7 separate regions of the Homo sapiens genome follow, and all the other regions are linked to region 1. The links are contacts of gene promoters, found by promoter capture Hi-C in human tissues and cell types (Jung and others, 2019). All regions are on one chromosome and are shown on one strand. Each heading gives the region's core, a stretch centred on a gene start or on the middle of the fragment in contact. The rest is flanking DNA. Distances are from core to core; before and after follow the strand shown. Region 1 holds the start of ANKRD9 (ankyrin repeat domain 9). Region 2 overlaps CDC42BPB (CDC42 binding protein kinase beta). Region 3 overlaps CDC42BPB (CDC42 binding protein kinase beta). Region 4 overlaps HSP90AA1 (heat shock protein 90 alpha family class A member 1). Region 5 has its middle 25 kb from the start of HSP90AA1. Region 6 overlaps TRAF3 (TNF receptor associated factor 3). Region 7 overlaps TRAF3 (TNF receptor associated factor 3).

Evidence for each region. Contacts are between HindIII fragments. The study calls those that stand out against the background at their distance.
Region 2: a contact is called between a fragment that was not itself captured here and the fragment with the promoter of ANKRD9 in region 1, in 2 of the 25 tissues and cell types used here (dorsolateral prefrontal cortex and mesenchymal stem cells).
Region 3: a contact is called between a fragment that was not itself captured here and the fragment with the promoter of ANKRD9 in region 1, in 2 of the 25 tissues and cell types used here (adrenal gland and dorsolateral prefrontal cortex).
Region 4: a fragment that was not itself captured here is called in contact with the fragment with the promoter of ANKRD9 in region 1 in 1 of the 25 tissues and cell types used here (dorsolateral prefrontal cortex).
Region 5: a contact is called between a fragment that was not itself captured here and the fragment with the promoter of ANKRD9 in region 1, in 1 of the 25 tissues and cell types used here (spleen).
Region 6: a contact is called between a fragment that was not itself captured here and the fragment with the promoter of ANKRD9 in region 1, in 1 of the 25 tissues and cell types used here (mesenchymal stem cells).
Region 7: a contact is called between a fragment that was not itself captured here and the fragment with the promoter of ANKRD9 in region 1, in 3 of the 25 tissues and cell types used here (H1 embryonic stem cells, dorsolateral prefrontal cortex and hippocampus).

What each region holds. Positions count from the first base shown.
Region 1 is chr14:102,507,370-102,511,738 of GRCh38, reverse strand. ANKRD9 (ankyrin repeat domain 9) reads left to right here and starts at 1,963. Exons shown (of 4, transcript NM_152326.4): 1 at 1,963-2,210; 2 at 2,893-3,098; 3 at 3,190-3,264; 4 at 3,797-4,369. The coding sequence starts at 3,850. LOC105370679 (a long non-coding RNA gene) reads right to left here and starts at 1,696. Exons shown (of 4, transcript XR_007064352.1): 1 at 188-1,696. RefSeq lists enhancers at 1-599, 600-1,245, 1,246-1,889 and silencers at 1,370-1,419, 1,580-2,019, 3,014-3,175. The HindIII fragment of the contact is 3,197 bases long and covers 1-3,172 here.
Region 2 is chr14:102,966,883-102,971,251 of GRCh38, reverse strand. CDC42BPB (CDC42 binding protein kinase beta) reads left to right here. Exons shown (of 37, transcript NM_006035.4): 14 at 991-1,101; 15 at 2,536-2,780; 16 at 2,894-2,999; 17 at 4,082-4,206. Among named protein-coding and RNA genes, the nearest start is that of AMN, 46 kb to the right of the region's middle. The HindIII fragment of the contact is 7,838 bases long and covers 1-4,369 here.
Region 3 is chr14:102,943,472-102,947,840 of GRCh38, reverse strand. CDC42BPB (CDC42 binding protein kinase beta) reads left to right here. Exons shown (of 37, transcript NM_006035.4): 27 at 39-120; 28 at 1,157-1,373; 29 at 2,117-2,179; 30 at 3,354-3,950. Among named protein-coding and RNA genes, the nearest start is that of AMN, 23 kb to the right of the region's middle. RefSeq lists an enhancer at 1,497-2,696. The HindIII fragment of the contact is 4,076 bases long and covers 1-3,920 here.
Region 4 is chr14:102,079,177-102,083,545 of GRCh38, reverse strand. It overlaps HSP90AA1 (heat shock protein 90 alpha family class A member 1), which reads left to right. Exons shown (of 11, transcript NM_005348.4): 9 at 244-512; 10 at 1,102-1,435; 11 at 1,725-2,804. The coding sequence ends at 1,834. Among named protein-coding and RNA genes, the nearest start is that of HSP90AA1, 5.7 kb to the left of the region's middle. The HindIII fragment of the contact is 4,613 bases long and covers 227-4,369 here.
Region 5 is chr14:102,109,893-102,114,261 of GRCh38, reverse strand. It overlaps a transcript of HSP90AA1 not described here. Among named protein-coding and RNA genes, the nearest start is that of HSP90AA1, 25 kb to the right of the region's middle. The HindIII fragment of the contact is 6,059 bases long and covers 1-4,369 here.
Region 6 is chr14:102,848,941-102,853,309 of GRCh38, reverse strand. All of the region lies in intron 2 of TRAF3 (TNF receptor associated factor 3), which reads right to left. Among named protein-coding and RNA genes, the nearest start is that of AMN, 72 kb to the left of the region's middle. The HindIII fragment of the contact is 5,301 bases long and covers 1-4,369 here.
Region 7 is chr14:102,808,523-102,812,891 of GRCh38, reverse strand. All of the region lies in intron 1 of TRAF3 (TNF receptor associated factor 3), which reads right to left. Among named protein-coding and RNA genes, the nearest start is that of TRAF3, 33 kb to the right of the region's middle. RefSeq lists silencers at 1,130-1,239, 3,049-3,208. The HindIII fragment of the contact is 3,490 bases long and covers 732-4,221 here.

The sequences.
Region 1 (4,369 bases), core at 714-3,213:
TGCCCTTTCACCCTCATTCCACCAGTAGCCATGGAGACGGCTGTATCTCAACTCCAGCCTTCGAAGAGGGCAAGAGAGCAGGGGAGCCTTGAGCCACAGACAGCCCACATGGGCACCATCTCCCCAAGATGTCCCCCAGGGTTTGGGCTCCCAAAGGCCGATTGTTGACTCCAGGACCTTCACTCACTTTGCTCTCCCCACCATCGTACTCAGAGGCATCCAGAACCGGCAGATGGGAGAAGCCCTAGGGAGATAGGCCTAGATACAGGAGGAGACATGTGGAGCTGAGGCAAAGGCGGGTGCGGATGCCAGGCCCAGTGCCCTCTATACCCCTACTCCTGCTGACAACCTGGCTGCTGTAAGCTTGGCAGTTGCCATGGACTCCCTGGGAGAGATGGCGTGGCCTGGAACGTCCCCCGCCCTGAGGTGGGGCAGGGCTGGTGGGGTCTGGTCATCCCCCTGGTGGGTCCATGCATGGCAGCCTGGGCAGGATACATGTGAGTGCCTACCTGGGCTGGGGTGGCCTGACCCTCTCTGGGCCTCACAGCTTTGTCTGCCTCATGGTACTGTCCACCTGGCCTCTCAGGACTGCTCTGTGGCGTGTGTGCTTAAGGGATTGAGCTCGTTGGGCTGGGGACAGAGGCCTGCCTAGGTCTGTTGAGAGGGCCCAGGTAAGACTTCCACCCAGACTGACTGGCTGGGGCACACAGAGAAGCCAGGACAGGGCTGATTGTGTGTGCAGGGGCGTGCCCTCTGGACGAGGCCCCTCCCACCGGGGCGAGGCAGAGGCCTTGCTTGGTTGGAGCGGAGTGGGGGAGTGGGAGGGTCTCCCTGGTGAGATAGTACTGGAAGGGCAGGGACAGCATTCTAGGGAAGGAACCAGAAAGAGCCCCTGCATGGAATGTGGGGATTTCACCATGAGACCCCGGCTGCCTGGCCTCTGAGAACGTGTGTGGGGGGATTCCAGGTGGAAGGTCGTGTCTGGGAGGATGGGTGGGGGGTTGAGCAGTCATTGCCCCTCTCCAGATCTGCGTCCACATCTGTAAAATGGGCCTAGAATTCCCAGCCGCTGGGGGCGAGTGAGGCCATAAATTAGTTGAGATGGACCCAGGCTCCTAAGCCCCCTAGGTCATGACCCCAAACCTTGGAACCCCCGACGGAGACGGTGGGGGTGGCCGAGGCCCAATCGAATCTATCCCGCCCAGATGTGGGAAGAACCGCAGGGCAAACCCCCGGCTTCCCTCCTGGCCGCTCCTCTCTTTGAGGCCACCTCTCTGAGCCCTGATTTGCTGGCGGGTGAACTGGGGATCATCGTGTCCACTGTGGCTGGTGGTCGTGAAACGAAGTGGAAACATGAGTGTTGAGGCCGAGATGGGCGCAGTGCGCGCTCCTAAACAGCTGTCCCCATCCGTCCGCCCCTCCCTCCCTTGCGCGGGTCAGCTGGAGCGGGGGCGCGCCAGGCACGACCCTGGCCGGGCAGAAGGCGGTGGAGCCCTTAGGGGTCGCGGCTCCTACCCCCGGCCCTCCCATGTGCAGATGGGGTAGCAGCCTGGAGGTTTTTCCCAAGGTCACGTAAGGTCAAAGAAAAGGGGAGCTGGACGCGACGAGGAAAGTCACGCACGGCGGAGGGCGGGCCACCTACGCGCGCGCCCGAGTTCGCAGAGCAGCGGCGCCCTCCCGGGCTAGGGCAGCTCGGAGCTCGGAGCCTTTCTTCGCCCGCAGCTCGGGTTCCGGGAGCCCCGCCCCCGCCCATCAACGCCCCGCCCCTTTCGCCACGGCCCCGCCCCTCCTCTCCGTTCTCCCCGCCGGCGCTCCCTCAAGTTTCTCCGAAGTTTTCCGCGGGTCCAGCGGTGCGCCCCGCCCGCCGGCCAGTGACGTAACAATGGTGCAGCGCGGCGGCCAATGGGTGGTGGCGGGGGCCGGCGGCGCGGGCCAATGGCGGCGGCGGACGGTCCCGCTGTCCTGCCTGGCCGGGGCCGCACTGCGCCGCCCGCCGCCCGCCGCCCGCCGCCCGCCGCCGGCGACGGCACCGCCGCCCTGCGATCCGGCCGCGGCGGCTCAGAGCGCGGCTGCGGCGGGCGCGGGCGGCGGTGGCTCCCTCCCGTGCGTCCGTCGTGGGACCTTTGCCCGCTCGCCCGCGGGGGACAGCGCGCGCTCCGGTCCGCGGCAGGGGCGGGGACGCCCGGCCTGTGGCCCCCGCGCCCCCCATGGTGAGTCCCCGTCCCCCGCGCCGCGCCCGCGGCCGCCGCCCCCTCCTCCTCCGGCACACGCGCACGCAGGTGCAGCCCTCGCTGCGCCGGCCACCTGCGCGCGGACGCCCCGCTCGGCCCCGCGACCCTCCGCCGCCCGACGTCTGGCCGTGCAGGCCGGGAGGGGACGGGTAGGAGGTGGCGGGTGGCCCCGGGCGCGGCGCTGCCTTCGATGGCCCAACCCCCTTATTCACGAGCCGCGGCCGTGACTCTGCCCGGTGACGTGGGGAGGCCGAACTTTACGTAACCCGCCCGGCGCCCCACGCGTGCCGGCACAGGGCATATCTGGGGCCCGGAGGCCCAGGCTTGGGGAAGGGGCTCCAGTCACGGTGTTGCCCACGGGCCACAGCCTACCCGCACCGCGCCGCTCTCTTTAACTCAGTTACTGCCAGTGATAGTGACCCAGTCAGTGTGTGTGGACGCGGCCTGCCTTCTGTCCCAGGCCCCTTGTGACCAAGGGCTTACCCTTGAAAGAAGGCAGTAGGGAGGTTGGGACGGAGCCAGAGGTCAGACGCCTAGGCTCAGGTCGGGGCTGGGGACTCAGAGGGCAGGGTCAGGGCCTAAGCTCGATTGCCTGTGGGTTGGGGGTCCCCACCAATTCTGGAATGAGCCCAAACTGAGACGCAGGGGACCTGAGTTCTAGGCCTGGCTCTGCCGTGGCTTGCTGACCTTGGAGAATTGGAGAAGCTTGTGCCCTGCTGGAAAGTGGGATGGCAGTACCCGCTTCATCTAGTAGTCGGGGAGATCAAGAGAGGTATGGGACCTGAAGAGGATGGCAGACTGTGCAGTGCGGTGCACACCGGTCTCCAGGTTGTTTTCACCCTCCTATCTCCTCCCAGGAGCTAACGTGTAAGCAAACATGTTTGGATAGAGGGCTGGTGCCACGCCCCAGGCTCACCCCGCCCGCACAGCCGTCGTCCACCCCTCCCCTTTCTTACAGATAAAGCTGAGGCTCGGCCAGGGACTGTGATATACCCACATCCCCGGAACTAGGTGATCGCGGTGCAGGAACCAGGTAGGTCTGAGTCTGGATCATGCCTCTGAACAGCCCAGGAAGAGGCTCCAGGGGCCTCCAAGTGGTCTGGGGTCGGAGATCAGGGTCAGGGTTGCGCTTGGGCTGGAGAGTGGATTTGCCTCAGCTTGAGATGTGGGCCCAAGCTTTCTCATCCCCTCCCTGGCCTTTTCTTTATTTGGGGTCGTATGAACCTGGCTTAGGTGGGAACAGAAGCTCTTCCAGTGGGTCCCTGGGTTGGAGAGGGGAGGGGAGATTTGAGGGCATGGGCAGCAAGGGCATTTCCAGCAGAGGTGCCAGAGAGCAAGTCAGTTTCAAGGAGGGAGAACAGGTACAGCTAGATCAAGGATGGAGGCGGTGGTTCTGGGCGTCGGAGAGATGGAGCTGTAGGGTGACTGGAAGGGCCTGGCCGAGGCTGGAGGTAGGTACAGGCCTGGTGGGCCAGGACCGGAGGGGCTGTGTGAGGGGCAGAGGGGAGTCCCCGGGCCTCCCCAGTTTCCCCGCGCCTCACCGTGGCCTCTTCCTTTCCCCGCAGGTGTGCCTTCGCGGGATCCATGCCTTGAGGCCCAGGAACGCCCCGCCGCCAGCATGCCGTGGGACGCGCGGCGGCCTGGGGGTGGCGCGGACGGCGGGCCCGAGGCCTCGGGCGCGGCGCGCTCGCGAGCGCAGAAGCAGTGCCGCAAGTCGTCGTTCGCCTTCTACCAGGCGGTGCGCGACCTGCTACCCGTGTGGCTGCTGGAGGATATGCGCGCCAGCGAGGCCTTCCACTGGGACGAGCGCGGGCGCGCCGCCGCCTACTCGCCCTCTGAGGCGCTGCTCTACGCGCTCGTGCACGACCACCAAGCGTACGCGCATTACCTGCTGGCCACGTTCCCGCGGCGCGCGCTCGCACCGCCCAGTGCCGGCTTCCGCTGCTGCGCGGCTCCCGGGCCGCACGTGGCGCTGGCAGTGCGCTACAACCGCGTGGGCATTCTGCGCCGCATCCTGCGCACCTTGCGCGACTTCCCGGCCGAGGAGCGGGCGCGCGTGCTGGACCGGCGTGGCTGCAGCCGCGTGGAGGGCGGTGGCACGTCGCTGCACGTGGCCTGTGAGCTGGCGCGCCCCGAGT
Region 2 (4,369 bases), core at 1,275-3,774, 460 kb before region 1:
ATTTGGCAGGAAGAATGGCATTTTTTACATTTTGTTAGCTGTTCTTTAATATCTGGCTGAATGGAAAACAGTTGAGTTCTCATGGCTGTTTCTTCAATCCGTTTTGCTACACCGTTCTGGATAAAGTACATGAAGAAATCCTGGCCCCCACAGATAGCTAATTAGGAAAGGAAGGGCCTTGCACACCCCTGATGTCTCAGGACCCCAGGGTTTGCAGCCCTGTGCCGCCCTGGGTGTTCTGAGTGTTCTGCTGTGAATGGTTGACATATTGTAAGCGATGCTTAGTTTAGAACTCTATTAAAATTTCCTTGATAAATCCCATAAATGAGAAGGCCTGGAAGCACATGCTCCTGTTCCTTTCAAGTTCAGGGCTCTTTGTTCTTTAGCCCCAGAGGACCTGTTTGTTTTCTTCTTAGTCTATTTTGCAACCCAAATATATTTGTAGTTACAGGCAGTTAAAACTGAAGTTAGTGATACCCCTAATGAGGAATTAGCATTCCACATATGGGGGAAGTGATAACAGTGCCTGGGATTGCCCTCGAGTGGTTTGGGCACAGGCAGAGATGAAGCGGGCTTGGCTCGGGAGCTCACTGTTGAAGCTGGGTGCCGGCACGTGTGTTCGCTATTCTGCTCGTTCTTCGTGTGCGTGTTTGAAATGGCCCATTTAATAAATGAATTCAAGTTCTACAGATATCAAAAGTACTGGTTTTCACGAATCAGTGAAATTTAAATTTCAAGAAATGTATCCTTTCTTGAAATTTAAGTGTCAATTTAAGCTAGAATTGAACCTTGTTTTATTAGTAACCAACCATCCCAGTTGAACCCAGAAGTGTATTTCTCAAACTTTAATTTGTGATAAGATTTGATGAAGGGTGAACACGCGCAGAGCTCCTTCGAGGTCTTGTTCTTGTGGAGGTCCCGTGGGTGCTGCTGTAACTGGTGAAGCAGGGCTCGCTTTTTGTTAATAGAAACTGGATCTTCCTTTTGTAGCTGGAAGCTCAGCTTGATGATGCTGTTGCTGAGGCCTCCAAGGAGCGCAAGCTTCGTGAGCACAGCGAGAACTTCTGCAAGCAAATGGAAAGCGAGCTGGAGGCCCTCAAGGTAGTGCTGGGCGGGGGTCTCTGCCCTTAACTGAGAGGGATGCTTATCTTTGCTGACGCCACCACATGGAAGTCACCTTGTGTAATGTGTGGTCCGGGCCGAGTGTCACCCGAGGCTGTTCAGACAAGACCCACATGTGGAGAGGTGGGGGGTGTGACCCCTGCCTTCGTGACTGCTTTCATTTTTAAAGGCCAAGTTCATGTTTTTCCTTTGTTATATAAAAGTTTCAGGCAATTCACAGTAAGTCCTAGGAAACGAATATCTAATTGGCTCATTTCCTACTCCAGCCCCATCAATTCATAGCCTTCTTCACATCGTGGTATTCTAAATTCGGTGCAGTTGAGTTTTGGAAAAGCTCCTTAAAGCCCGTAGCCTGCTGCTGACTGGGGAAGAGACAGGCTGGCCATCAGTCGGGGCCCACTGGTGGGGCTGGAGGGTAGCAGGGAGGCCGCGGAGGGCGGGAGTGGGGAAGGCCACAGTGGCCAAGTGGGCAAGGGGCCGGAGGCGGATCTCCTTGGCAGTATGGCGTGGCCTGGATCTCCTCATGTGTGAGCCGCGTGCGATGGGTCTGCCCTCTCCCTTCGCCTCAGTGATCTGGCAACTCTTCCTCTGGGACGTGGGCCTGAGATGCTGTTCCTCCCTGGCAGCGGGCTTGGCTGGACCTCGGCATGTGGTGCCCGAGGCTCCTGCCCCTTTCTCAGCCCTTGAGTCTCCTCTCTGCACAGCAGGCAGAGTGAGCTTGGCAGACCAAAGCCGGATCACATTCCTGTGCGGCAGGGCCTCCGTGGCTCCGCAGCTGTCCAGCAGCTACCCTCCTGCCTGCTCCAGCCCAGCAGTGCCTCTCCTGCCCCTCCTTGCCCCGCCACACCAGACACACTGGCCTCTCTGCATGCTGCAAACACTGCCAACACGTCCCACCTCACTCCAGCCTGTGCCCTTGTTCTTTGCCCCTAGCCTGACACCTCACTTAATAGGCCAGCACCTTACAGAAGCCGCCCCAGCCATCCTGGCACGCCCTCCACTCCCTACAACCTGGCTGGGGTGCACGGCCCCTCTGCCCCTTTACTGGTTTGCTGTCAGTTCCCGCCAGCCCCAAGAGAGCAGAGACCTCAGTGTCACCCCAGTCACAAGGAGGGGGCCCAGCACAGAGTCAGCCCTCAGAAGAATGCTGCAAGCATGAATGAACAGGGTGTGGGGCAGAGCTTCGGGGGTCCCAGGCAGACCTGGGCACATCCCCCTGCAAGGCCGTCTCCTGCTGTGACCCCCTAGAACCTGGATCACGTTAGCCAGGTCAGCTACGTCATCTGGTGTAGACCAGGCACACACAGTCCTTGGGAAGGTGTCTGCACTTGCTTGGGATGAAAGGGGTTGAAAGGACAGTGTGACCCTTGAGGACACAGAGGTTTGTCAATTTATGTTAACCTTTGTCTTCAGGTGAAGCAAGGAGGCCGGGGAGCGGGTGCCACCTTAGAGCACCAGCAAGAGATTTCCAAAATCAAATCCGAGCTGGAGAAGAAAGTCTTATTTTATGAAGAGGAATTGGTCAGACGTGAGGCCTCCCATGTGCTAGAAGTGAAAAATGTGAAGAAGGAGGTGCATGATTCAGAAAGCCACCAGCTGGCCCTGCAGAAAGAAATCTTGATGTTAAAAGATAAGTTAGAAAAGTCAAAGCGAGAACGGTAGGTTTTCATGAGCTTCTCAGTTCAGAAGATGCAAGCTGATACCCACGCCATAGATACGAATATCAGTGAAGTTACGAGCTTTTAAAACTGTTTCTCGCTCACCTTGGCAGGCATAACGAGATGGAGGAGGCAGTAGGTACAATAAAAGATAAATACGAACGAGAAAGAGCGATGCTGTTTGATGAAAACAAGAAGCTAACTGCTGAAAATGAAAAGGTAATTAATTCAAAGTACCTGAGTTAGCACTTTGTGTGGAAGTTGTAATTTAAAAAAAAATTATTTTTAATTTGTGTGGGTACATAGTAGGTATATATATTTATGGGGGAGTAGAATGTCGTCATTCTTGAGTCTTGGAAGTTTGGTTTTTTTTTTTTGAGATGGAGTCTCGCTCTGTCGCTCAGGCTGGAGTGCAGTGACGCGATCTTGGCTCACTGCAACCTCTGCCTCCCAGGTTCATGCCATTCTCCCACCTCAGCCTCCCAAGTGGCTGGGACTACAGGCGTCTGCCACCACGCCTGGCTAAGTTTTTGTATTTTTAGTAGAGACGGGTTTTCACCGTGTTAGCCAGGATGGTCTCAATCTCCTGACCTCATGATCCACCCACCTCAGCCTCCCAAAGTGCTGGGATTACAGGCATGAGCCACTGCGCCGGCCGAAGTTTGGTGTCTTTTTACAGTGCAGTAATGTGCCATATAACGATGCTTCCATCAATGATAGACTGTGTGTACAACAGGCGTCCCGTACGATCATAATACTGTACTTTACTCTACCTCTTCTGTGTTGAGATACACAGATACTTAGCATTGTGCTACAGCCGCCGGCAGCGTCCCGCACAGCAACATGGTATGCAGGCTTGGGGCCTGGAATTGACAGGCTGTACCACAGGGCCTGGTGTGCGGCAGCCGCACCGTCTAGGCTTGCGTGAGTGCATTCACGCTGTGTGTGCAAGGACACGTTTCTCAGACCGTGTTCTTGCTGTTTCACTACACGTGACTGTTTTAATTTTTGAATGGAGTCATGTGTTTGGTCTTTTAAATAGGATGTTTGTATTCAGCGAAAAGATGCCAATTGCCTGAAGTCACTAGCTCCAGCTCCATCAGTTTAGGTTTAGATTTGAATTGAAATGTGACTTAAGCTAGATACAGTGAAAAAAATCCATATCATGAACTTAGTTTGGAAAAATCTCATGACGATTAAAGAAAACTTTCAGAGTCTTCAAAAGAACTTCCAGTGTTAAATCCAGCATACTTAAAGGATGCCCGATTAACAAGTTCTGTGGTGAAATTGTTTCATTTCAGCTCTGTTCCTTTGTGGATAAACTCACAGCTCAAAATAGACAGCTGGAGGATGAGCTGCAGGATCTGGCAGCCAAGAAGGAGTCAGTGGCCCACTGGGAAGCTCAGATTGCGGAAATCATTCAGTGGTACGTGCGCGGCCCCATTAGCGGCCGTGAATCCGCTCCCTGCTCAGTCCATGGGGTCTGCCCCGCCTCTTCTGCCTGATCCTGTGCTCCACGCCAGGCCGTGCCTCTCAGGCTGGGGTGCAGGTCTCACTGCTGTTCCCCAGAACTTCTCATGTCTGGGGCA
Region 3 (4,369 bases), core at 633-3,132, 440 kb before region 1:
CGTGTCTCCCAGCGGGGTCAATGTTTCTTCCTTACCAGAGATGACGAGTTTTCCGTGAGCTCAGTCCTGGCCTCAGATGTCATTCATGCTACACGCCGAGATATTCCATGTATATTCAGGGTATGAATTTTTCATTAATCTTTTTAACAAAGCACATGGTTAAAACTGATTGTTCTAGGCATGTCATTGTGCTGCGGCAGCCATCAGCGCACCTCCAGTGTGGCCCTAGGGTCTCAACCTCCAGCCTGGCTCCAGGTCCTTGTGCGTCCCGTCCTGGCCAAGTAGCAGCCTGTGCCCGTCTCGGGGAGCCTCCTGGCTGGCTTCTTCCCAGACACCCCTCTTCACTGACCCTCCCTTCTCCTACATCTGAAACTCCTCTTCCACTCAGTCCACGTCCCGGCCACTGTCCTCACAGCGTGTGCACTGCCAGGCGGGCGCTGTGGCAGGTTAGGCATGAAGGTGCCTCTCCAGTGCCCCCCAGCCAATTGGAGCCAGCGTTTTTGTTGACTGAGTGAGTGCTCCCTCACTGAGTTAGTGTTAGACATTGTAGCATTAGGACGTTCCTAGAAGACTGAATTGGGGAAAGAAACCCTCCAGCCCCCTCCACTGGGAATTTTCTTATAAACAGCAAAATTTTGATAACAAAACTAAGTCTATAAATTAGCTTTTACTAAATCACAGCTCTATTCAGAAACAACCCTGTCATACACAGTACAGGAAATTACCATCATTGTTACTGGAACGATGGTCATTTGGTAGCATGCGTGCTCAGAGGCTGCTCACAGGGAGGCATGATTTGGGCCAGTGTTTTTGAGATCTGCTTTTCCTGGACACATTTTCAGAATCTACTTTTATAATGATTATTCAAGAAAGCAGATTTAAAGTAGGCAGCTACTCGTAGTTTTGACAAAAGCAGAATTAACGAAAATGGGACCAGGAAGCGATCTCACGGGGCTGTTTAGAACCCCGCCCCTTCCGTGTCCTGCCGCGGGAGCCTCTGCAAGGCGCCCAGCGAGGTGGAGTCAGGGGTCCCTGCCTGGGAAGCACATCAGCCCCCGTTGCTCCTGGGGTGCGTGGCTCCAGCAGGGCCGTGGTAGCTGCGTGCGGCTTTGGCGTTTGATGACTTCTCTCTTCTCTTCTGTTTCCTGTCATGAAGGTGACGGCCTCTCTCTTAGGTGCACCTTCTAAGACCAGCTCGCTGCTCATTCTGACAGAAAATGAGAATGAAAAGAGGAAGTGGGTTGGGATTCTAGAAGGACTCCAGTCCATCCTTCATAAAAACCGGCTGAGGAATCAGGTCGTGCATGTTCCCTTGGAAGCCTACGACAGCTCGCTGCCTCTCATCAAGGCCATCCTGACAGCTGCCATCGTGGGTACGTCCCAAAGGTTGTGTCCTTCAGGTGTCTGAAGCAACAGCACTTCCGGCGGCGCTGCAGTGCCCATCTGAAAATCAGATGAAGGTCACAGGTCCATTTGGGTTTGTAGACAGTTTCTCCATGCATGTTAAGAAGCAGACGAGGCCGGGTGCGGTGGCTCACGCCTGTAATCCCAGCACTCTGGGAGGCCAAGGCGGGCGGATCACAAGGTCAGGAGGTTGAGACCATCCTGGCTAACACGGTGAAACCCTGTCTCTGCTAAAAAAAAAAATAAAAATAAAAATAAAATATAGCTGGGCGTGGTGGCGGGCACCTGTAGTCCCAGCTACTTGGGAGACTGAGGCGGGAGAACAGCATGAACCCAGGAGGCAGAGCTTACAGTGAGCCGAGATCACACCACTGCACTCCAGCCTGGGCGACAGACCGAGACTCCGTCTCAAAAAAAAAGCAGATGACCTGTGCGGACAGTACAGTTGGCCCCGGCTAAGCCTGAGGGTCAGCTCCAGGAGCCCCACACACACCCAAATCCTTGCAGACTCAATCCCACAGTCAGCCGGCCCTGTGGAGTTCGTGTAGAGAGAAAGTCACCCCCGATACTGAAGTGTCACATCCCTGGAATGCTGTATTCTCATCCACATATGGTTGAAAAGTATCTGTGAATGAGCCCACCCACGCATTCAAACCCATATTGTTCACGGTCGGCTGTACTGACTTTGTGTATGTTACTTACCCCTCCACAGATGCAGACAGGATTGCAGTCGGCCTAGAAGAAGGGCTCTATGTCATAGAGGTCACCCGAGATGGTGAGTGAGCAGGGCGTTTCCAGCCTGGGATGTCACAGGCCCAGCCTGGCCTCTGCAGACAGCACAGGGTCAGTAGCTCCTAAGGGTTAAGACAAATGCGCTTGATGAAGGCGCCGGAGGGGCCAGCGTGCCGTGAAGACCGGCATCGAGTGCATGGCGACGCGGTGCTAAGTTGCGTATCACATCCATCGAGTTCTTCAAGGGGAGCACTGAGCGGGAGTGGGTGGGGGGTCAAGGAAAGCCCCCTGGGAGGAGGAACAGCTGCAGCTTTCCCACATGTGCTGAGGCTTCACTTGAGAAGCTTTAGTTTCTTTGCTTCCAATTTTGACACTTCAGTCTTCCCAGCGAGGAAGGGCAAAGGTATCCTGGCATGCACCCGCTCCACAGCCCTGGGTCTAGGAGCAGAAACGTCAGGAGACTGGAACTGGCCATGGGCAGGGGGCAGGGGCCCAGGGGAGCATCCCTCAAGGAATCCAGCGACATTTCATGTGAGCCATAGTCCTTTCCCGACAGACCCAGCATCTCTGCATGTGATGGCCGTGGAGCGAGAAGGGCGGGGCAGCCGCTGGGCGAGGCCGTACCCTGGCAGCTCTGTGGGGAGATCTGAGCAAGCGAGGGGCTTGGGTTAGCCTGGGGGCCGTGTGAGGGCGGCGTCTTCACTGGGGGCCGTGTGAGTGTGAGGGCAGTGTCTTCACTGGGGGCCCTGTGAGGGCAGCGTCTTCAGAGGATTTGTCTCAGGGTCCCAGTGGGTTGGGGACAGCTCTTTGTCCCTCATGTGCAGCGTGAGGGCCCTCTGGTTCGGGGATGAGCTGGAAGGAGGCCCAGATCACCCCAGGGCCTTGCTGCGCGAGGACCCAGGTGGAAGCGCTGCCCAGCTGGAGCCCTGGTGCACTGAGGGGTGTGCACAGCAGCAGAGGCAGAGGAGCCTTTGGACCAGCCCCCGAGGCTGCCCCAGGAGCGCGCTGTGGATGTGGGGCAGCTTCTCCGGGGGGCGTTCAAGCCACTGGCTCTGTGGGCAGAGACGGGCTCAGGGCCGGGCTCAGGCTGTGCACACAGGAAGGGAGCCCAGGGGAGGGCCCCAGAGTGTTCCAGGCAAGTCTTTAGCCAAGGCCGTCAGCCCCTGGGAGCTGCTGGCTGTCCCGTCGGCCTCACGCTCTTGTCCTCCTTGCCACAGTGATCGTCCGTGCCGCTGACTGTAAGAAGGTACACCAGATCGAGCTTGCTCCCAGGGAGAAGATCGTAATCCTCCTCTGTGGCCGGAACCACCATGTGCACCTCTATCCGTGGTCGTCCCTTGATGGAGCGGAAGGCAGCTTTGACATCAAGCTTCCGGAAACCAAAGGCTGCCAGCTCATGGCCACGGCCACACTCAAGAGGAACTCTGGCACCTGCCTGTTTGTGGCCGTGAAACGGCTGATCCTTTGCTATGAGATCCAGAGAACGAAGCCATTCCACAGAAAGTTCAATGAGATTGTGGCTCCCGGCAGCGTGCAGTGCCTGGCGGTGCTCAGGGACAGGCTCTGTGTGGGCTACCCTTCTGGGTTCTGCCTGCTGAGCATCCAGGGGGACGGGCAGCCTCTAAACCTGGTAAATCCCAATGACCCCTCGCTTGCGTTCCTCTCACAACAGTCTTTTGATGCCCTTTGTGCTGTGGAGCTCGAAAGCGAGGAGTACCTGCTTTGCTTCAGCCACATGGGACTGTACGTGGACCCGCAAGGCCGGAGGGCACGCGCGCAGGAGCTCATGTGGCCTGCGGCTCCTGTCGCCTGTAGTATGTATATGTTTTCTGTTGCATATCCCTGTTGCTGCTTTTCCCACCGACAGTCAGCATGTGTTCGATTTTGCTTTGGTTTGTCTTCCAGTCCCTTAGTTGAGTAGTCACAGAGCATCGGGAGAGGTGGGCCCCATGCCAGCCCGCAGCAGAGAGCATGGTTCAGATCTCACGTCTCAGACCAGCAGTAGGCGGGCTCAGCAACCTCTCTCCCTGAGCACATGGGGCCGGTTCTTCCAGAGGCCTCAGCAGAGGACCCCGTCGGCGGGCATAGGCCCCTGGGCAGAAGGGCTCGGCGAACCGAGAACGGGGCGTGGCATTCATCTCTCATTTAAAAGGCCTTCCTCGTGATAATACAGAAACTTACACAGTAGTAAAGACAAGCTTGAGGGGTTTTGGTGGCCAGAAAATAATTCACC
Region 4 (4,369 bases), core at 1,284-3,783, 430 kb after region 1:
GTAAGAGAACACTATGTTACAGTCATACACGTCGTTCTTACAATCTTGTAGGCTCTGTGGGTGTGTTTTCTACTCAGGTAGCACTGTTACAACTGGTATTGATCTAGGCAAGATAATTAACATGAACTAGGTCATTTTCTGTCTTAGGTTCTGCCTAGGTATCTGGCTAGCAAGAAAAGTCAGAGCTAGATGAAACCATTCTTAACTGTTAAAAGGTCTAAAAGTAACTTTGTAATACCTCAGGTGAGACCAAGGACCAGGTAGCTAACTCAGCCTTTGTGGAACGTCTTCGGAAACATGGCTTAGAAGTGATCTATATGATTGAGCCCATTGATGAGTACTGTGTCCAACAGCTGAAGGAATTTGAGGGGAAGACTTTAGTGTCAGTCACCAAAGAAGGCCTGGAACTTCCAGAGGATGAAGAAGAGAAAAAGAAGCAGGAAGAGAAAAAAACAAAGTTTGAGAACCTCTGCAAAATCATGAAAGACATATTGGAGAAAAAAGTTGAAAAGGTATGTGAATACAGCATTTCCTGATCATTGATACTTCTAAGGTGCTTTCAAGCTTAGTCATACATAGCCCATTTTCGCATGTTTTCAACTTAAAACAGAAAACTATGTTGTGTGTGGCTGGGCGCGGTGGCTCACGCCTGCAATCCCAGCACTTTGGGAGGCTGAGGCAGCGGATCACAAGGTCAGGAGATCGAGACCATCCTGGCTAACACGGTGAAACTCAGTCTCTACTAAAAATAGAAAAAAATAAACCAGGCGTGGTGGCACGGCCTGTAATCCTAGCCACTTGGGAGGCTGAGGCAGGAGAATCGCCTGAACCCAGGAGGCGGAGGTTGCAGTGAGCCAAGATCGCACCACTGCACTCCAGCCTGGGTGATGGAGCGAGACTCTATCTCAAAAAAAAAATTGTGCATGTAAAACATGAAATTATAACCTGTGCTCTTTGGATACCTAATGCGACATTTAAGTTGTATTTGACAGTAGATAGTATTTTGGATCTATTGAAATTTGGGTTCTACAGATTTCATTTCACAATGAAAGTTTAGGAATTAATCTTTCTAGGTTCCTAGTCATCACTTTTTGATTACAGGTGGTTGTGTCAAACCGATTGGTGACATCTCCATGCTGTATTGTCACAAGCACATATGGCTGGACAGCAAACATGGAGAGAATCATGAAAGCTCAAGCCCTAAGAGACAACTCAACAATGGGTTACATGGCAGCAAAGAAACACCTGGAGATAAACCCTGACCATTCCATTATTGAGACCTTAAGGCAAAAGGCAGAGGCTGATAAGAACGACAAGTCTGTGAAGGATCTGGTCATCTTGCTTTATGAAACTGCGCTCCTGTCTTCTGGCTTCAGTCTGGAAGATCCCCAGACACATGCTAACAGGATCTACAGGATGATCAAACTTGGTCTGGGTAAGCCTTATACTATGTAATGTTAAAAAGAAAATAAACACACGTGACATTGAAGAAAATGGTGAACTTTCAGTTATCCAAACTTGGAGCACCTTGTCCTGCTTGCTGCTTGGAGGTATTAAAGTATGTTTTTTTTAGGGATAAGTAAGGTCTTACAAGAGCAAAGAAATGAAATTGAGACTCATATGTCCTGTAATACTGTCTTGAAAGCAGATAGAAACCAAGAGTATTACCCTAATAGCTGGCTTTAAGAAATCTTTGTAATATGAGGATTTTATTTTGGAAACAGGTATTGATGAAGATGACCCTACTGCTGATGATACCAGTGCTGCTGTAACTGAAGAAATGCCACCCCTTGAAGGAGATGACGACACATCACGCATGGAAGAAGTAGACTAATCTCTGGCTGAGGGATGACTTACCTGTTCAGTACTCTACAATTCCTCTGATAATATATTTTCAAGGATGTTTTTCTTTATTTTTGTTAATATTAAAAAGTCTGTATGGCATGACAACTACTTTAAGGGGAAGATAAGATTTCTGTCTACTAAGTGATGCTGTGATACCTTAGGCACTAAAGCAGAGCTAGTAATGCTTTTTGAGTTTCATGTTGGTTTATTTTCACAGATTGGGGTAACGTGCACTGTAAGACGTATGTAACATGATGTTAACTTTGTGGTCTAAAGTGTTTAGCTGTCAAGCCGGATGCCTAAGTAGACCAAATCTTGTTATTGAAGTGTTCTGAGCTGTATCTTGATGTTTAGAAAAGTATTCGTTACATCTTGTAGGATCTACTTTTTGAACTTTTCATTCCCTGTAGTTGACAATTCTGCATGTACTAGTCCTCTAGAAATAGGTTAAACTGAAGCAACTTGATGGAAGGATCTCTCCACAGGGCTTGTTTTCCAAAGAAAAGTATTGTTTGGAGGAGCAAAGTTAAAAGCCTACCTAAGCATATCGTAAAGCTGTTCAAAAATAACTCAGACCCAGTCTTGTGGATGGAAATGTAGTGCTCGAGTCACATTCTGCTTAAAGTTGTAACAAATACAGATGAGTTAAAAGATATTGTGTGACAGTGTCTTATTTAGGGGGAAAGGGGAGTATCTGGATGACAGTTAGTGCCAAAATGTAAAACATGAGGCGCTAGCAGGAGATGGTTAAACACTAGCTGCTCCAAGGGTTGACATGGTCTTCCCAGCATGTACTCAGCAGGTGTGGGGTGGAGCACACGTAGGCACAGAAAACAGGAATGCAGACAACATGCATCCCCTGCGTCCATGAGTTACATGTGTTCTCTTAGTGTCCACGTTGTTTTGATGTTATTCATGGAATACCTTCTGTGTTAAATACAGTCACTTAATTCCTTGGCCTTACAGTGTCTCAAAGTTCTTTACAAATCTACTTAAAGCCATCCTGGCTGAGGCAGGAGAATCGCTTGAACCTGGGAGGCGGAGGTTGCGGTGGGCTGGGATTGCACCATTGCGCTGCAGCCTGAGCAGCAAGAGCGAAACTCCATCTCAAAAAAAAGATGAAAAAATCAGCCCAATAGGTAAGAGTCCCTCTGGGGACTGGGGGTGGTAATGGCTAAATAAAAGTCTTCACTTCTGAAATTTGGTGGTTCTAGAGACAAAACTTGGTTAGATAGCATATAGGATTTGCATTCTGAGCCTAACGCCATATATAAAAATGATAGGAAATGCCTGGGACTTGGATATGTGACAGTGTCTAAGGGGGCAGTGCACAGGCAGGGAGAGACCTTGTCTCAGTCTCGTGCTAAGCAGGTATTGAATGCTTGGTAAATGGCAATCACGTTTAGTCCTTTAAATTCTCTGAAAAGTTCTTAATCCCCTTCGATAATATACAGGAGGAATTACGTAAATTGAGGTCTTAGTAGTGGCTGAATTTAAATTTAACTCCAAAGCCCCATTTTATTCTGCTAAGTTTTGTTGCGTACTGAAAGGTGTTAGAAGAAAGGTTTACGGTGTTAAACTAGGAAGTGAATGGCAAAAAGGGTAAAAAGTCAATTTTGTTTTTTCCCAGGTCTAGCAAGAGAATATTAAATCTTAAGATTTCTTTCAATTAAAAACATAAGGCACTTGAGGGAATCAAGTCAATATAGAACCTCTATAAATGATCTCCCAAATGAACTCATCCTCCTGGAGTTACTGGGAAAGCATTTATGGCAAATAGGTCCAGATGCACAGGTAAGTACCCATCTCCCAGCAACCCCCATGCTGGAGACTGTACCACCAAGAAGATGGATCCCCAGCCCAGTGAGTGAGAAGATGAGCTAGATGACACATGAATGTCATGCTGAAAATGCCCTTGCACTGCTCCAGGACCACAATTCTTACCCTATTGCTTCAAAATTCACTGTTGTTTCAAACCTTCCATAATCAAGTTCCATCCTGCCAGGGAGGGTGGTGAGTGCTGAAAAGACATGCAAACTGGACAAGAGAATTATAGATGACATGGTCGTCTAGGTAGGAAACTCATAAGGAATCTACCAAAATTATGCTAGAAATGATTTTAGCATAGGATAGTTGAGCCAGGCATGGTGAGTCACGCCTGTAATCCCAACACTTTGGGAGGCAAAGGTAGAATTGCTTGAGCCCAGGAGTTCAAGACTGTCTAGGCAACAAAGTGAGACCCTGTCCCTCTGAAAAAATTAAGGCCAGGTGTGGCTCATGCTTGTAATCCCGGCACTTTGGGAGGCCAAGGTGGGTGGATCACCTGAGGGTCAGGAGTTCCAGACCAGCCTGGCCAACATAGCAAAACCCCATCTCAACTAAAAATACAAAAATTAGCTGGGCGTGGCGGCAGGGACCTGTAATCTCTGCTATTCGGAAGGTTGAGGCAGGAGAATCACTTGAACCCGGGAGGCGTAGGTTGCAGTGAGCTGATTGCGCCACTGCACTTCAGACTGGGCAACAG
Region 5 (4,369 bases), core at 1,118-3,617, 400 kb after region 1:
ATCTCAGCACTTTGGGAGGCCGAGGTGGGCGGATCACTTGAGGTCAGGAGTTCAAGACCAGCCTATGCAACATGGTGAACCCCATCTCTACTAAAAATATAAAAATTAGCCCAGTGTGCTAGCGCACGCCTGTAGTCCCAGCTACTCGGATGACTGAGGCATGAGACTCTTGAGCCTGGGAGACATGAGATCATGACTCTGCATGACAGAGTGAGACTCTGTAACAAAAAATAAATAAATAAAATAAATGGGGGCGGGGTGCAGTGGCTCACGCCTGTAATCCCTGCACTTTGGGAGGCCAAGGTGGGCAGATCACGAGGTCAGGAGATCGAGACCATCCTGGCTAACATGGTGAAACCTCGTCTCAACTAAAAATAGAAAAAATTAGCGGGGCATGGTGGCAGGCGCTTGTAGTCCCAGCTATTCCAGAGGCTGAGGCAGGAGAATGGCGTGAACCTGGGAGCCAGAGCTTGCAGTGAGTCAAGATCATGCCACTGTACTCCAGCCTGGGCGACAGAGCGAGACTCCGTCTCAAAATAAACAAATAAATAAATAAAAATAAAAAAATAAAATAAATGAGTATGCCTGGTGCGGTGGCTCACGCTTGTATCCCAGCACTCTGGGAGGCCAAAGCAGGCAGATCACTTGAGGTCAGGAGTTCCAGCCTAGCCAACATGGTGAAATCCCGTCTCCACTAAAAATACAAAAATTAGCCAGGCATGGTGGGGCATACCACACCTGTAATCCCAGCTACTCGGGAGGCTGAGGCAGGAGAATTGCTTGAACCTGGGAGGCGGAGGTTACAGCAAGCCAAGATCACAACATTGCACTCTATACTTCACTCCAGCCTGGGTGACGTAGTGAGACTCTGTCTCAAAAATAAATAAATTAATTAAAGAAAGAAAGAGAGAGAGAGAGAGAAAGCAAGCAAGCAAGCAAGCCGGGCGCGGTGGCTCACACCTGTAATCCCAGTACTTTGGGAGGCCAAGGCGGGCAGATTGCCTGAGGTCAGGAGTTCGAGACCAGCCTGGCCAACATGGTGAAACCGTGTCTCTACTAAAAATACAAGAATTAGCCAGGTGTGGTGGCAGGCACCTGTAGTCCCAGCTACTTGGGAGATTGAGGCAGGAGAATCGCTTGAACCCGGGAGGCAGAGGTCGCAGTGAACCAAGATCGCACTACTGCACTCCAGCCTGGGCAACAGAGTGAGACTCCATCTCAAAAAAATAAATAAATAAATACAAACAAAACAAATGACACAAATGAACAGAAAAAATAATATTGAAGAAAACAGGCTGTACAGGGAGATGCGAATTTACAACAAGTGCTAATATTAGTAGTTTAAATAGATATTGCATCTATGAAATAAGAACGGTCTGCATTCTTGTAAAAAACTTAGGAAAATAAAAAACCTCTTGAATATTAAAAACTTAACAGCAGAAATTAAAATGCTAGAAGGGTTGGAAGAGAAAGTTGAAATCAACTGGGCACAGTGGCTCACGCCTGTAATCCCAGCACTTTGAGAGGTAAAGCCAGGAGGATGCCTTGAGGCCAAGAGCTCAAGACCAGCTTGGGCAACATAGTGAGACCTCCATCTCTACAAAAAAATTTAAAACTTAGCTGCACATGGTGGTGTGTGCCTCCAGTCCCAGCTACTCAGGAAGCTGAGGTGGGAGGATCTCTTGAGCCCAGGAGTTCAAGATTACAGTGAACTATGATCACACCACTGCACTCCAGGCTAGGCAACAGAGCAAGACCCTGTCTCTTTTAAAACAAAAAAAAAGGGAGAGCCAGGCACGGTGGCTCACGCCCGTAACCCCAGCACTTTGGGAGGCTGAGACAGGCAGATCATAAGGTCAAGAGATCAAGACCATCCTGGTCAACATGGTGAAACCCCATCTCTACTAAAAATACAACAAAAATTAGCTGGGTGTGGTGGCGGGCACCTGTAATCCCAGCTGCTCAGGAGGCTGAGGCAGGAGAATTGCTTGAACCCAGGAGGCACAGGCTGCAGTGAGCCAAGATCGTGCCAGTGCACCCCAGTCTGGGAACAGAGTGAGACTCCGTCTCAAAAAGAGAGAGAGAGCATATAATAGAAGACCACCTAGAGAATCTAAGAGGTCCAAACTCCAAACACTGTAGGAGGAAATTATCCACAAAATCTTCAAGTAAAATTTCCAGAACTGAAGAACATGAGTTTACAGAGGGGATGAGCCCACCAAGTGTCCAGCAGAATGGATAAAAATAGATCTATACCAAGGTACATCACTTTGAAATTTTAGAACACTTGGAATAGAAAAGATCCTACAAGCTTCCAGAGAGAAGAAATGTCATATAAAAGGGATCAGTAATCAGAATAGCTTGACTTGTAAACACCACCACTGAAAACCATAACACAAGTAGGAAAAAAAGCTCTTTTATGCTATCTTGATGTATCTTTGCCTCTGTTGTTCATTGATGGATCCCAAGTGCCTAGAGGCAGTGCCAGGCATGTACTAGAGTCTCAGTAAAAATTTATTGAATGTAAGAGAACAATTGAGAAATGGCTTCAAAATTCTGAGGAAGTATTTATTCCAGCTTATAACTAAACCAATATATCACTCAAGTATGAGTTTAGAATAAAGATATTGTGGGACATGCAGGGTTTCAATTTACCCTCTTTGTGCCCCTTCTCAAGAAGCTGTGAAAGGATATGCTTTGTTTTGGGCCAGTTTCTCCCATTTGGAAGGGGTGTATTTACCCAATGCCTGTACCCCCATTGTATCTAGGGAACATGAAAAGGGAAATCTAGGCAGAGGTTCCCAAACCTCAATTCTTGACTTCCATGCACCTGCAGGCTCAGTACCATGTGGAAACTGCCAAGGCTTGGGGCTTGCACCCTGTGAAGCAATGAGCTGTTCCTTGGCCCCTTTTAGCCATGGCTGGAGTGGCTGGGACTCAGGGCACCAAGTCTCTAGGCTGCACAGAGCAAGGGGGCCCTGGGCCCGGCCCATAAAACCATTTTTTCCTTCTAGGCCTCCAAGCCTGTGATGGGAGGGGCTGCCGTGAAGACTTCTGATATGCCCAGGAGACATTTTTCCCATTGTCTTGGGAAATTAACATTCAGCTCCTCGTTACTTAAGCAAATTTCTGCAGCCAGCTTGAATTTCTCCTCAGAAAATGGGATTTTCTTTTCTAGTGCATTTCCAGGCTGCAAATTTTCCAAACTTTTATGCTCTGCTTCCCTTATAAAACAGAATACTTTGGCTGGGTGCAGTGGCTCATGCCTGTAATCCCAGCACTTTGGGAGGCAGAGGCAGGTGGATCACCTGAGGTAAGGAGTTTGAGACCAGCCTGGCCAACGTGGCAAAACCCCATTTCTACTGAAAATACAAAAAATTGGGCTGGGCGCAGTGGCTCACGCCTGTAATCCTAGCACTTTGGGAGGCAGAAGCGGGTGAATCACGAGGTCAGGAGATCGAGACCATCCTGGCTAACACGGTGAAACCCCATCTCTACTAAAAAATAGAAAAAAATTAGCCGGGCGTGGTGGGGGGCACCTGTAGTCCGAGCTGCTCGGGAGGCTGAGGCAGGAGAATGGCGTGAACCCGGGAGGCGGAGCTTGCAGTGAGCCAAGATCGTGCCACTGCACCCCAGCCTGGGCCACAGAGCAAGACTGTCTCAAAAAAAAAAAAATTATCCGGGCATGGTGGTGGGCGCCTGTAATCCCAGCTGCTTGGGAGGCTGAGGCAGGAGAATTGCTTGAACCCGGGAGGCAGAGGTTGCAGTGAGTCGAGATTACACCATTGCACTCCAGCCTGGGCAACAGAGTGAAACTCTCTCAAAAACAAACAAACAAACAAACAAACAAACAAACAAAACTGAATGCCTTTAACAGCACCCAAGCCACCTCTTGAATGCTTTGTGGCTTAGAAATTTCTTCCACCAGGTACCCTAAATCATCTCTCTCAAGTTCAAATTTCCACAAATCTTTAGGGCAGGGCAGGAGCAGAATGCCACCAGTCTCTTTGCTAAAACGTAACATGAGTCAGCCGGGTGCGGTGGCTCACACCTGTAATCCCAGCACTTTGGGAGGCCAAGGCAGGTGGATCACAAGGTCAGGAGTTCGAGACCAGCCTGGCCAATATGGTGAAACCCTGTCTCTACTAAAAATACAAAAAATTAGCCAGGCGTGGTGGCAGGCACCTGTAGTCCCAGCTACTCAGGAGGCTGAGGCAGAAGAATCGCTTGAACCCAGGAGGCGGAATTTGCAATGAACTGATATTGCACCACTGCACTCCAGCCTGAATGATAGAGCAGGACTCCATCTCAAAAAAAAATAAAATAACGAGTCACCTTTGCTCCAGTTCCCAACAAGTTCCTCATCTCC
Region 6 (4,369 bases), core at 1,056-3,555, 340 kb before region 1:
ATCCCAGCACTTTGGGAGGTCAAGGCAAGAGGACTGCTTGAAGTACCAGGAGTTTGAGATCAGCCTTGGCAACACAGCAAAACTCAGTCAGCCTCTAAAAAAAAATAAAGGCCAGGTGCAATGGCTCACACCTGTAATCCCAGCACTTTAGGAGGCAAGGCAGGAGGATCGTCTGAGGTCAGGAGTTCAAGACCAGCCTGGCCAACATGGCAAAACCCTGTCTCTACTAAAAATACAAAAATTAGCCGGACGTGGTGGTGTGAGCCTGCAGTCCCAGCTACTCAGGAGGCTGAGGCAGGAGAATATGAGAATCGTTTGAACCCAGGAGGTGGAGGTTGCAGTAAGCCGAGATTGTGCCGCTGCACTCCAGCCTGGGCGACAGAGTGAGACTCTGTCTCAAAAAAATAATAATAAAAATAAAATATAAAAATAAAATAAAAATTAGCCTGGCATGGTGACACATGCCTGTGAGTCCTAGCTACTCAAGAGGCTGAGGCGGGAGAACTGCTTAAGCCCAGGAGCTCAAGGTTACAGTGAACTACGATCACGCCACTGCACTCCAGCCTGGGTGACAGGGCAAGATTCTGTCTCTAAAAAAAACAAACTGTTTTTAATTTTTTTTAAACAGCTAGCACACTGAACCTTATGTGACACAATTCTGTTTGTCCATATGTAGATCCAAAGAATTTCATGTCATCCTAAGTATCTCAATAGGAAAATTAAAAGGAGAAGTAAAGATATTAGAAGTCAATGAAAAACTAAGTTTCAGGGGATAATGTTTTAAATTACATGCAGAGAATTAAGGAGAAATAAGTGGCCAAGAGGACAACTGCAGCCTCACACACGGACCACACTGACTGATGGTGAGGACAGCAAGCAGGCCGCACTGGAGTCGGTCATGTCTCGTTCCCAGGCTGGAACAACAACACCTACAAGTACAGCTCCAAAAGCAAAGACCAAGTTCAAAGGCCCCAAACTAAATATCACTGTAAAAGAAAGCTCCTAAAACTAAAAGGCTAATTTTTTCTAAATTATCTGTGGTGGTTGTCGGGCATGGCAGCGTGTGCCTGTAGTGCCTGCTCAGAAGGCTGAGGCAGGAGGATCACTTGAGCCCAGGAGGTTGAGTCTAGCCTGAGCAAGAGAGAGACCTTGTCTGTAAAAAAAATAAAATAAAAATAAAATGTCTGTAAGGGTAATTTATTTTCTTTTGAGGTAATTTCTTTTCTTTTTTTTCTTTTGAGGTTATTTCTTTTATTTTCTTTCTTTTCTTGCCGTCACCCAGGCTGGAGTGCAGTGGTGCAAACATGGCTCACGGCAGCCTTGAACTCCCAGGCTGAAGCGATCCTCCTGCCTCAGCCTCCCAACCAGCTGGGACTACAGGCATGCACCACCACACCCCGCTAACTTTTCTATTTTTTGTAGAGACAGGGTCTCGCCATGTTGCCCAGGTAGGTCTCGCCAATGTGGCCCAGACTGGTCTCGAACTCCTGGGCTCAAGCAATCCTCCTGCCTCAGCCTCTTACACGAACCACCCACGAGGCCTGTGATGATAATTTCTTTTTTTTTGAGGCAGAGTCTTGCTCTGTCGCCCAGGCTGGAGTGCAGTGGCGCCATCTCGGCTCACTGCAAGCTCCGCCTCCAGGGTTCACACCATTCTCCTGCCTCAGCCTCCTGAGTAGCTGGGACTACAGGTGCCCGCCACCAGGCCTGGCTAATTTTCTGTATTTTTAGTAGAGACGGGCTTTCACCATCTTGGCCAGGATGGTCTCAATCTCCTGACCTCGTGATCCGCCCACCTCGGCCTCCCAAAGTGCTGGGATTACAGGCCTGAGCCACTGCGCCCGGCCCTGTGATGGTAAATTCTAATCTGTGACCATATCTGGTCCGTTCACACTGAGCTGTGGACAGGCAGGAATCCCGTGTCTTCCACACACAGACCTATCACCAGAAGTGGCAAGAAATAAGTGAGATTGCATATTTGGAAGGATTGTAAAAACCTTTGATTAGATTTCTTGATTTAAACATAAATACCTTTACTTCACTTGCTTATATATGGGTATAAAAATAGTTAAGTTCTATTTTTATCCTAAAATTTAGATATGACAATTATAAGTTAATGGCAATTCTACAATATTTATAATAATTATTGTGCTGATAAAGAAAAATTATGCAAATTCAGTTAAATGCATTAAAGATGGTATTTGAGGCAACTTTTAGTAACTTGCCAATTAATGTTTGGCATCCTGATTTGGGGGAGCAGCTTGCAGGTTCCAATGCCCAGATGCTGGACACATGCGCCTCTGGTTAGCACGGCAATCATACACATGCTGGGAATCTGAGGCCACTGCCTATTTAATAGCCCACTGCCTATCCTCACTGAGCATCAGGTTTGAGAAGATGTTTGCTTCCACACAGAGAGAAATGTACTGCTGAATGGCAACAACAGATCCACTAAGCAAAGACAGTGCTAAGAAAATTACAATGAAGGGAATTGTGTGACTAAAAAATGGCACCTATGCCAGTGCACTTTGAGCTAAGGAAGGGCCAAGACCAGAAACTACCAGGAGCGCAGCATCTGGCACTCTGAGCGCTGTAACTTTTTTTTTTTTTTTTTTTTTTTTAGACGGAGTCTCACTCTATCGCCCAGGCTGGAGTGCAGTGGCGCAATCTTGGTTCAATCCTACGCCTCCCAGGTTCAAACGATTCTCCTGCCTCAGCCTCCTGAGTAGCTGGGATTACAGGTGTGTGCCACCATGCCCAACTATTTGTATTTTTAGTAGAGACAGGGTTTCACCATGTTGGCCAGGCTGGTATTGAACTCCTGACCTCAAGTGATTCACCCATCTCGGCCTCCCAAAGTGCTGGGATTACAGGTGTGAGCCAGCACGCTCGGCCTGCAATTCTTATTCTGCAGTCTTCTTTAAGCAGAATTTTTACTCTATTACTTTACTTACTGTTTGCTACAGTCTTAGACATGAATTTACTGTATTTTGAGGTCTTGTTTTTAGCTAAATGAAAGGCATCTCTAATTATTTAAGAAAATTCTTTCATAAAAGTTTAGTTTGTAGTCAGCTACTCAGGAAGGCCCTCACTCACAGCTGAGGCATATCCATACCTAGTACAGCAAAGAGGTGGACTGGATTCCTTTCACTTTCTTCTATGCCTCCATTACCCTAATGATTTGTTTTATGTTCCCCAGTTCCATGATTTTAGTTGAGTTACACTGTAATTAGAATTTAAAAACTGGAAACAAAAGTACATCTGCTGACAAAAGGGTGCTCCAAGAGCTGGAAAGCCCGGGGAAAACCAAAAAAGGGAAGCATCAGATAAACAAAGCAAAAGGCTCCTGCCGCAAGAAAGCACAAAACACGACACACATGGAGAAAAGCAGCTCAACATCAAGCCCAGCAGGGCAATTAAAGGTATCGTCCAAGTGATGCCAATAAAGGGAGAAGGGCAAAGATCACGAACAGACAGGTGTGCCCTGCTGATAAGAAAGCTTTCTGAAAATCCACATTCATGCAAACATTTCAGCATACTGACTCTGTTCCTGGTACCTGATGCCAAATGTTCCACTGCGGGAGAGGGCCCACAGTCAGCATCCTGGGCAAGTAACAGGAGGCTGGATTCTTACCAGACAGGCAGGCAGAACACAGTCACACATGAAAAGCCCCCTTAGGACAGGGAGGGAGAGACACACAGACCAAGTGACTCAGGCAGACTCCTAGGAAAGAACCTGATTAAATCACAGTATAACACATGGTCTTAAAGCCTTTGAGAAAACAATAGTTATTTGGGGCCCAGCATTGTCAGTATCCCTTGGTTCATAAGAGTTAGGATTTTTAAAAAGTATTCATTCAATCCTTATTATATGCAAAGACACTGTGCCTCTTTTGGCCCACGACCAGAGTCCTGCCATCTGGACAGGAAGCAGCGAGAGGAGCCAAGGGCTCAGTCCACTCGATATGCAACCAAGTGCAGGCAGCACTTCTCCAGATGGAGGCTTCCCCTAGGTCACGCCTGCCACATGGGGCTGGAGCCCCGGGGCTGTATAAGGGGCAGAAGTTGCAAATGTGATAAGGTTCATCTTCCTGGAGTGTCAACTGTATTTGAAGACGTGAAAAGCATAAAACATGGCCATATTGAGAAGCAGATTATAATGTTTCGATCAATTGTTAGAATAAAACATGAGATTTCAAAAAACACTAGATCTGCCAGGCGCCATGGCTTAAGCTTGCAGCATACTTTGGGAGGCGGAGGTGGGAGGACTGCTTGAGGCCAGGAGTTCAAAACCAGCCTGGGCAACATAGCAAGACCCCATGATTTTTAAATAAAAAAGACAAAAGGAAAAAACAACAACAACAACACT
Region 7 (4,369 bases), core at 1,227-3,726, 300 kb before region 1:
GCCGGACTGCAGTGGCGCTATCTCGGCTCACTGCAAGCTCCGCCTCCTGGGTTCACGCCATTCTCCTGCCTCAGCCTCCTGAGTAGCTGGGATTACAGGCGCCCGCCACCGTGCCCGGCTAATTTTTCGTATTTTTAGTAAAGACAGGGTTTCACCGTGTTAGCCAAGATGGTCTCGATCTCCTGACCTCGTGATCCGCCCCCCTCGGCCTCCCAAAGTGCTGGGATTACAGGCGTGAGCCACCACGCCCGGCCTGAGAAAAGGCAACTCTTACACACTATTGGTAGGAATGTAAACTAGTACAGCCACTATGGAGAGCAGTATGGAATTTCCTCAAAAGCTACAAATAGAACTACCATATGATCCAGCAATCCCACTACTGGGAATTTATCCAAAGGAAAGGAAATCATGACATCAAAGAGACATCTATACCCCATATTTACCGTAGCACTATTCACAATAGCCAAACAGGGAATCAATCTAGGTGTCCAACAACAGATGAAGAAAATGTGGTATCTATACAAAATGGACTACTATTTAGCCATAAAAATGAATGAAATCCTGTCGTTCACAGCAACATGGATAGAAGTGGAGGACACTATATTAAGTGAGATAAGCCAAAAACAGAAAGTTAAACACCACATGTTCTCACTAATACATGTGGAAGCTAAAAAAAGTTGATCTCACAGAAGTCAAAAGTAAACACAGGATACTAGAGGTTAGGAAGGGTAGGAGGATGGGAAAAATGGGGAGAGAGCTAGACAGGAACAGAGTCTAGTGTTCTATAGCACTGTCGGATGACTGCAGTTAACAATAATATATAGCTTCAGGCCAGGTGCTCTGGCTCACTCCTGTAATACCAGTGTTTTGGGAGGCTGAAGCAGGAAGACCACTTGAGGCCAGGAGTTTGAGACCAGCCTTAGCAACACAGCAAGACCCTGTCTGTACAAAAAAAAAAAAAAAAAAAAAAAAAAAAAAGGGCCAGGCATGGTGGCACAAGCCTACAGTCCTAGCTACTCGGGAGGCTGAGGCAGGAGGATCACTTGAGCCCACGAGTTCAAGGTTACAGTAAGTTATGACTGCACCACTGCACTCCAGCCTGGGTGGCAGAGTGAGACAGTCTGTACAAACACACACACACACACACACACACACACACACACTACTGCTGTAGCAGTATCCTCCTCACAATGTCAGCCCATCTTAGCAACTTCCGATCAAACTGAGAGTCAAATTGAGAGACTGTAATGAAGGCCTTCATCGCCTTTGCACTATGAGACAAGAGATCTGACCTCTGCACAAAAACAAACAAAAACCAAAAAAAAAAAAAAAAAAAAAAAACCGCCTACAGCGCAAACAGCTCCTTGAGCTCCTTGTAGGTGTGGCTTGTGGGAATGGTCAAGAGCCAGGCATGGCGGCACGGGCCTAATGTCCCAGCTACTCAGGAGGCTGAGGCGAAAACTGCTTAAGCCCAGGACTTCATGGCTGCAGTGTACTATCATCCAGGGCAGTACGACAGCACCTGTGAATAGCCACTGCACTCCCGCCTGAGGCAACATAGCAAGACTCTCTCTTAAGAAAAAAAAAAAAAAAGGTACCCATTGTTTGCTCAGAAGGACGCTAATACAGACAGCAGCAACGGGGCTCATGAGAAGAATCAAAGCAGCAAAAATCATGGGGATGCAGCAATTCGGCATCCCCTTAAGGATCAGGCTGTCCTCCACTCCACTGTGAGATACAAAGTGTATAATGCATGGGACTGGCGTCCTACAAGATGATCTAAGTGCATACATACTGAAAAAAGATGCAAAGACTATACACCAAGATGCTAATGGTGTGGGGATAATGAGGAAAATTATTTTATTTTTATCTTTATGTGTTTTCTCTGGGTATACATACAAAGTTAAGATACCTTTACCGAGCTTTCTCCTGAAGAATTCCTTCTTGATGTAAGTGACTGTAAAGGTTCTGCCCTCAGAGATGTCTTATTTCTGGGAATCCAGAATGTGTAATGGACTCGGGGTACCTTTTCTACGTTTCATCTCCCAAAGAATACGTCCACACCCAGGTAGGCTGATGCTGACACAGCAGACAACACTGACCTCCTCCATGCAGAAGTTTAACAGGTGAAATACAGTTACTGACATCAGCAAGAATTGTTGTCTTTCTCTTGATTCTCTCAGGTTCCTCAATTTATAGGATCACTGAGGCTTCACAGATGTCAGCTGCTGATCAAAACAATCATAAGCCCACATCATGATAAGCTCAAGATAAATCTTTAGCCTTAAGTCAGGAATTCTGGGCCCATCTGCATGTCAAATACCACAGAGCCAGTGTCTTGTGAACACTGCAAACACTTCTGAAGAACTACTTTATAAGTTCAGGAGAGCACATCTCAGAAAAAAATGGAATACTTATTTCAATTTCTCACAATTAACTCTAATTTATGACATTGACATTCTCCTACTTAAAAGCTTCTGATGGTCCACCACTCCAGAACTAAGCTTCAACTTGTAAAAGGGGCCATGATCACTGTCCTCACCACACACTGAGGTCACCCTATGTTCCCACCAGAGCCGACTGCACTGGGTGTGATGAACAGTATCTATACTCTCTCTCCCACTGCACCGCCCCATCCTCACCCAAATCCCCTCAAGATCAAAATTCTTTATCTTGTAAAACTCCTGCTCAAACATTACAGTTGTAGGGGGGAGGGGGTTGTTTGTTTTTTGGTAAAGCATTCTTGACCCTTTAAGCCAAGAGTTGGCAAACTTTTTTCCCATAAAGAGCCAGACAGTAACTATTTTATGTTTCATGGGTCACATATTCTTCTTTGCTTATTTTTACAATCCTTTAAACACATAAAAACTATTCTTAGACCCATAGTTTGCCAATCTGTTTTAGATACTACTGCCATGCCGTGCTCCAACGTTTTTGGTAATGCATGGATGGAGTATGTTTCATCAGTTTAACTTCAATCAGATGAACTTTCAAAAGCCAAACTGAGGTTTCCCTTTAAAGATCTGTTCTTGCCTACATGGTCTTTAAAAGTCTATGCTGTGGGCCAAGCGCGGTGGCTCATGCCTGTAATCCCAGCACTTTAGGAGGCCGAGGCGGGCAGATCACGAGGTCAGGAGATTGAGACCATCCTGGCTAACATGGTGAAACCCCATCTCTACTAAAAATACAAAAAATTAGCCGGGTGTGGTGGCGAGCGCCTGTGGTCCCAGCTACTCAGGAGACAGACAGGAGAATAGCATGAACCTGGGAGGCGGCGCTTGCAGTGAGCCGAGATTGCGCCCCTGAACTCCAGCCTGGGCAACAGAGCAAGACTCCGTCTCAAAAAAAAAAAAAAAAAAAAAGTCTATGCTGTGAAAGATTTTATTATAAAGCTTAAAAATAATCCTCATTTGGGATACATTCCATTTCCAGGAGACACAGAGCTTTAAGAAAGTCACTCTAGGCCAGGCGCGGTGGCTCACGCCTGTAATCTCAGCACTTTGGGAGGCTGAAGCAGGCAGATCACCTGAGGTGAGGAGTTTCAGACCAGCCTGGCCAACTGGTGAAACCCCGTCTCTACTAAAAATACAAAAATTAGCCGGGTGCGGCCAGGCACAGTGGCTCATGCCTGTAATCCCAGCACTTTGAGAGGCCAAGGCAGGCAGATCACGAGGTCAGGAGATTAAGACCATCCTGGCTAACACAGTGAAACCCAGTCTTTACTAAAAATACAAAAAATTAGCCGCGTGTAGTGGCACGCACCTGTAGTCCCAGCTACTTGGGAGGCTGAGGCAGGAGAATCTCTCGAACCTGGGAGGCAGAAGCTGCAGTAAGCAGGGATCGCGCCACTGCACTCCAGCCTGGGTGACAGAGCGAGACGCCATCTCAAAATAAATAAATAAATAAATATTAGCTGGGTGTGATGGCGCGCACCTGTAATCCCAGCTGCTCGGGAGGCTGAGGCAGGAGAATCACTTGAACCCAAGAGGTGGAGGCTGCAGTGAGCTGAGATCGTGCCACTGCACTGCAGCCTGGGCAACAGCGTAAGACTGTCTTAAAAAAAAAAAAAGTCAATCTATCACCATGCTCAAGACAATCAAATTAAAACTACAACTAAAATTTTTCTAGAAACAGCCATTGGTCATTCGACTCAGAGGACATATTTTCCCCAAATACTGAAAATGTGCCTTTAATATTTACATTATGTCCTGTAAAATGCGTCTATAGCTAGGGTCCACCTTCTAGACCAATTTGGAAGTTTTTCTGTTCCAACAAATCCTCTTAAATAACTTCTCAGACATTTCCTTCCCTTGGAGGCTGCCTTGGAAGCCCTCTAGCACCTGACTAGTATGGTTCTTCTTTTCTTTTT